Linked DNA regions of Homo sapiens: region 2 is linked to region 1. Evidence: promoter capture Hi-C in human tissues and cell types (Jung and others, 2019). All regions are on one chromosome and are shown on one strand. The core of a region is centred on a gene start or on the middle of the fragment in contact, and the rest is flanking DNA. Distances in the headings are between cores, read along the strand shown. Region 1 holds the start of KRTAP11-1 (keratin associated protein 11-1). Region 2 overlaps HUNK (hormonally up-regulated Neu-associated kinase).

Evidence for each region. Contacts are between HindIII fragments. The study calls those that stand out against the background at their distance.
Region 2: a fragment that was not itself captured here is called in contact with the fragment with the promoter of KRTAP11-1 in region 1 in 1 of the 25 tissues and cell types used here (dorsolateral prefrontal cortex).

The regions. Positions count from the first base shown.
Region 1 is chr21:30,880,066-30,882,988 of GRCh38, forward strand. It overlaps KRTAP11-1 (keratin associated protein 11-1), which reads right to left and starts at 1,515. Exons shown (of 1, transcript NM_175858.3): 1 at 579-1,515. The coding sequence starts at 1,459. The coding sequence ends at 968. The HindIII fragment of the contact is 5,009 bases long and covers 41-2,923 here.
Region 2 is chr21:31,961,851-31,964,807 of GRCh38, forward strand. All of the region lies in intron 5 of HUNK (hormonally up-regulated Neu-associated kinase), which reads left to right. Among named protein-coding and RNA genes, the nearest start is that of HUNK, 90 kb to the left of the region's middle. The HindIII fragment of the contact is 4,129 bases long and covers 1-2,957 here.

The sequences.
Region 1 (2,923 bases), core at 265-2,764:
CAGTGAGCCAAGATCGTGCCACTGCACTCCAGCCTGGGCGACAGAGTGAGACTCCATCTCAAAAAAAAGAAAAAAAAGAAAAAGAAAAAGAAAGAAAGAAAAGAAAAGAAAAATCATAGCCCTTACTTCACCGCACAGCTGAAGACTCTCTCTGAACAAGTAAAATATAAGATAATCCTTGGTTTGGTCACAGGGCATAATGATTAAGCCCATATTCTAGGCTCAGGAAAAAAAAAATCAGACCCTGATCAGCAAAGACTCTTGCAAACAAGGAGCTCTGTTGAGAAAACTAAATACCACCTGTTCTCACTAATAAGTAGGAGCTAAACATTAGGTACACGTGGACATAAAGATAAAAACAATAGACACTGGCAACTGGAAGAGCGGGGAGTGAGGAAGAGGAAAAGGGTTGGAAAACTACCTATTGGGTACTATGTTCAATACCTGACAGATGGGTTCAATCATACCCCAAACCTCAGCATCACACAGTATACCCCTGTAGCAAACCTGCACATGTACCCCGCAAAAACTAAATTAAAAGTTGAAATGTTTAAAAAAGAATTCTGCTGAGACATACATTTGCAATGCCAACTAATGCAGGTTTATTGAGAAATACATGGTGAGACAAGCTCTGTTTTTGTGAGACACAAAAGCAGAGGCCAGGAGATACAGCAGCAAGGTGAAAACATGTCAAAAGCATCAGAGACTGGGGTGTGGATGGTAAAGCTTCTGGACACATCCAGAGGCATACACAGCACCAGTGAGCAACCCTTAAAACAAGCTTAGGGCTGGCCAGAAAAATTTTAGAGTGCTAAAGACAGCGTGTGCATGGATAGTAGCCAGCAGTCAGGCGGTCACAAGAAGGGTCAGCTATGAAGAGCTATTCAGGGACAAGCAGCATGCTGGAAGATCCTGGAAACAGCTGGCAGGTCGTGGAGTCTTGATTCGCTCACTGGCTCCTACACACTTAGCAGGTTCTTCGGCAGCTGGACACGCAGGACTGCTGATACGTCCTGGAGACCCCACAGGCTGGCTGGCAGACAGTAGAGACTCCTCCCACTGGTTGGCAGACAGTAGAGATGCCGCCCACTGGTTGGCAGACACTGGAGATGCCTCCCAGGGGCTGACATCCACTAGAGACAAAGGTGAGCGGCCGGCTGTAGGTAGTTGAGCAGGGGTTGGAAATACAGGTAGTTTGTCGAGAGCAAGTCACCTGGCAAGGGTTGGAGACACATGAAGTTCGCCGGTAACAGGTTGGCTGGCAAGCAGTGGGCTCACAGCAGGTCTCTTGACAGTGGTCCAGGAGCCAAGAGCCAGTCTGGAAGGAACTGGGCAAACAGATGCCGCCCAGGCAGTCAGCATCAGTGGTGGAAGTCGTGGTAACTTGGGCCACTGGAACAATGCAGCGTCCTCCAATGGGCCTGGAAGAGCAATTTCTTGTGGAGCAGTTGAAGGACATGATGTCAGACAGAGGGCTGCAGGTAGCTTGCTGAAGTTACCTCCTGAGTTGTGAATGTCACTCCAGACTCCTGAGCTTTTATATATCCTTGCTGGTGGGTGGGGCTCTCTCCCTGGTCTCCGTGGCTTCTTTGGCTCAGACCAGTTTGCCTTAGAACATCTTGTGAATCTACACATTAATTGTCTCTTAAGAAGCCTTCACCCTCATAAAGAAAGTTTAGTAGTTTGGTAACTAAATCACAAGTCTTCTGTACTGTACTTAGTCTGATTAAGAAGGCTGGTTGGCAGCTTCAAAGCTATTGGTCATCCCAGCCCACACGTTGTCCCTCATTCATCTTGCTTATGATGAGTGTTGACCTGACACTCATCCTACCAAAGATGCCACCATCCTACCATCACACACTCTCTCCCTCCCTACCAGGACCAATTACAAGCCCATGCCCTGTTTCATTTGTCACTGGACTTAATATCTTTTAAACATAACTTAATCAGTCACTCTACCACACCTAACGGAGCTCCTCATTGGGAAGGTGCCTCCTTGAATATGTTTCAAGACAACAGTGACAACACTTGACAGGAACAAAGGGCACAGAGACTTGTATCCAAAGTCTGAGCTGGCTCTCAAAATTAATCAACTGACTCAAACAAGATGCCCGTGGGAAGGCTAGAGGGCAGTGGGACCCACCCTTTATGTTCAACCAACAAAGCAAATTAGAAGCTAACTAAGTGCAACTGTATTTGTAGCCAAGACCTTTTCTAAGTAAATTGGATGAGCTTTATTCCTAAAATGTTTAATTTAATAACAGTGGATAATAGTGACTCCTGGGTCTCATTAATATGCCAGTGGAAAAGGCTTAGTTAATTTTTAAAATTATCATAATGTTAATTTGAAAGGGTACAGTGTCTTTCTCCCAATTTGTTCAATATGTTCAAAAGATATTTATTTTCACACATATAGATAGAATGCATTTTAATTATGGACAAACTAAAGGCTCTTCAAGGTCATTGTCTCCATCAGGGATAAGGGGGAGGCAGAGCTGGGGGAAGCAGGCACTTAATCAATGTTTGGTAATGAAGAGATGTGTGAAGAGTGTGCTATATTTAATTATTCTTTTTATGCTTGGGGAAGCTATAGGGATATCACTCTATTTTATTTCATCTCACTACAATATAATGAATTTTAAACACCAGAATGATGGCTCGTTTGGGTCCACCTGAACATAGATGAATAAACTGCCTCAACTCTGGCAAAATAAGCAACTTCAACATCGCTTCAAGTGGTCAGTGGTATTTCTGTCCCAAAACAGCTGTAGCATCTGACTCATTTTTAAACTAGCTTACATGAGGGAGCGTAAGGGAATAAAATGGATTTCCATGTATTTGAGGGCTACAGGTAAGCTATGTTTTAAATATCCACAAAGCAAACAGCGTTATGTCAGGACTCATCAGAAATCCCTAATTGGAA
Region 2 (2,957 bases), core at 171-2,670, 1.1 Mb after region 1:
GGAGAACTGCTGATCTGCTGCCATTTCATTGTATTAGTCAGAATAGACCAGGTTATGCTGCAGTAACAATCAGCCCCCAAGTCTTAGTGGCTCAGGACCACAAAGGTTTATTTCTCAGTCATGCTACATCTCAGTTGAGAGCTGGATCAAACATTGAAAGGTTCTGCCCAGCCAAGGGCCCAAGGCTGATGGAGCAGCCACCACTTCCAACATTTCTGGTTCATGCAGAGGGAGAAAGGGAAAGAGAAAGAGAAGTTCTTTCGCCAGCAATTAAATCTTCCACCAATCTTCCAGTTGTAAGTGGAAGCTTTCTAAAACATGGCATGCGGCTTCACCCAACTAAAGAGAATGGGGCAGTGCAACCTTACCATGTGCGTTGAAAGTGAAAAGCCAGAAATATTTGTTGATTAGCATTAGCATGAGCCCCACACAGCTGTGGGAAAAGGAGCAGACAAGCGCAGGTAGGTTAGTAACACAAGAAAATCAATCTCATTGCTTCAGAACCATACCTTGTTTTTACTTTCAATAACATCACGCAGTCTTAGCAGGCTGGGCTCTAAGTGTTTTTTGTGAAAATTAAATTTAACCTTAAAGAAGCAGGAGTTGCAGTTCTGAAGATGTTAAAAAATGGTCCAAAGTTAGTCCCAAAGGAGACATATTAAAAATGTTCCCAGCAATTTCAGCATCACTGGAATTGCTGTCCAACCTCGCATAGCTCCTGCATTGAGCAGACAGCTTTGCCTTGGCCTTAAGCTCTGTGTGTGCTTGTTAAAGATCTTCACATTCCTACAGGACTTTGTTGTCTTCACTTGTCAAGCATGAATTGCATTTCTATATCTGATTTTCTAATTAGGGAATCTGATGCTCTCCCCATCTCCTCCTTTTTAAAATAACTATTGGGATATAGAAATATCTTTTTTCAACTAGGATTGAAATCCTTTGAGCCAGGTGTCAAGTGAGGTGTTTGCACATGATAGACACTCAGGGAATCTAGGTTGCTGACTCTGGTGTTAATGTGTCTGTGTGACCTGGAAAGGTGGCCCATAGATTATTTTGATTACTCAGGATTGGGAATTGTCCTGACCCAGTAGGGCCCAGAGCAGTGCACCAGCTGCTGAGGCAGCCCAGGGCATCTTATCTGGTTCATAGAGTGAATGTCTTCAGGTTTGAGGATCAGCTGCTGCCCTTCTGACAGCCTCCCATTTTTTCAATCCTTTGCACCCCGCTAAGTTTATCTCCTCTCCCTTCCAACCAGCCTGGCCCTGCTTATATCCAAAAATACTAGTTTACCAGTAACATGAGTAGCTGCCACTTATTGAATAATCCTTTGTAGGTGTTTTTCATGTGGTGTTGTTTTTATACAATCCTGCAAGGTAAGTCCCTGTTTACCAGTGAGGAAATTGAGTCTCAGAGAGATTAAGTCTGCTTGACTGAAAACCTAGATTTTCCTACCATGCTGTGTTATTTCACTCTTCTCTGATTTTATTTAGTATAAGACGCACCCCCCCTACAAAAAGTTGGAGGTATTATCTATTGTCTCTATGACCTTATGTTTTGAGTAATGTCAATCCAAATAGAAAATATGCCAGTTTTATTGTGTCTCACTAATGCACATCTTTATTAATTGGATGACTCTGTCATTCATATTTGTTTTTGTTTTTGTTTAAGACAAGGTTTCACTGTGTCATCCTGGCTGGAGTGCAGTGGCACAATCATGGCTCACTGCAGCCTCGGCCTCCGAAACCAAGCAGTCTTCCCGCCTCAGCCTCCCAAGTAGCTGGGACTGCAGGCGCATGCCACCATGCCCAGCTAATTTTTTTTGGTGGGGGGTATATTTTTTATAGAGAGAGGGTCTCCCTATGTTGCTCAAGCTGGTCTTGAACTCCTGGGCTCAAGCAATCCTCCTGCGTCGGACTCTCAAACTGCTGGGGTACTGCACCTGGCCCTGTCACTCATATATGTAATGATCATATCTATTAATTCTTCGGCTCTTTTTAAAGATTAAGTTGGAAGAATTTTTACCAAACTTGAGTTGAAAACAGCATTATTGCCCTTGTGAATCCACAGAACATGCTTCCAAAGAACTGCCCTTCATTCATCTCTGTCATGCCGTTTGCAAACTTAAGCTTCGAGGGCCTTTCTAAGTCTCTCTTCTACACACTTTCTTTTTGCTTGTTGGCACTTGTATGTCACAGAGTAGCGAATGCCTTTTATGGCTGAGCAGTTTTTCAGACTGTTACCTTTTCATCACTACACCTCAACACTAGCATTTATAATACATTCCAAGCAGTCACTTCAGGTTATGATGGTTTTGTGCTGTGAATTCTCCAAAGTCAAACTGGAGGAGAAGCGTTAGCTTTTATGAGGGTTGAGTCAGTGCTAATTACGATGTCCAAGAAGGCACAATGATCAGATTATCAAATAATTTTTTAGCTTGGGAAGTGATGAGGAGGGAGCTTCAAGTGGGGAGGGGTCTCTATTTGCATCTATCAGGCTACACTAATGTGAAAAGTCTGATGACAGACCTGCAGCCCTTTCACTTGGTACAGTGTTCAGGTGCTCACACAAGCCAGTCCAGACTTTGGAAAGCTGATGGTTCATGAAAGAAAGTGGGGTTTGCGATGGAGGAAGGTGTTCTGTGTGTTACGTTGAGCAGGGTGGTACTATTTTTCCAGGCTTCAGTGGAGAACCTAAGTGTTATCTCAGAGGGGTGGAGGGTGGCGTGTGGCCTGTGGCCATGCCTGGCATGGCTTTCCAGGATGGTGAGGAATATTTTAATCTCTTTTGCCCATAAGGCAGGGGTTTTCAGGACCCTAAAACAAACTTCAAAGAGCTCTAAGGACTTCTCAAAGTCCTTTTTGGATAGTAATGCAATGTCTGTGACGTCCAAAGGAAGAAAATTCGTCAGCGGAGATTTGAACTAAAATTACTTGTGCTCATCAGCAGTTTTTGAAGAT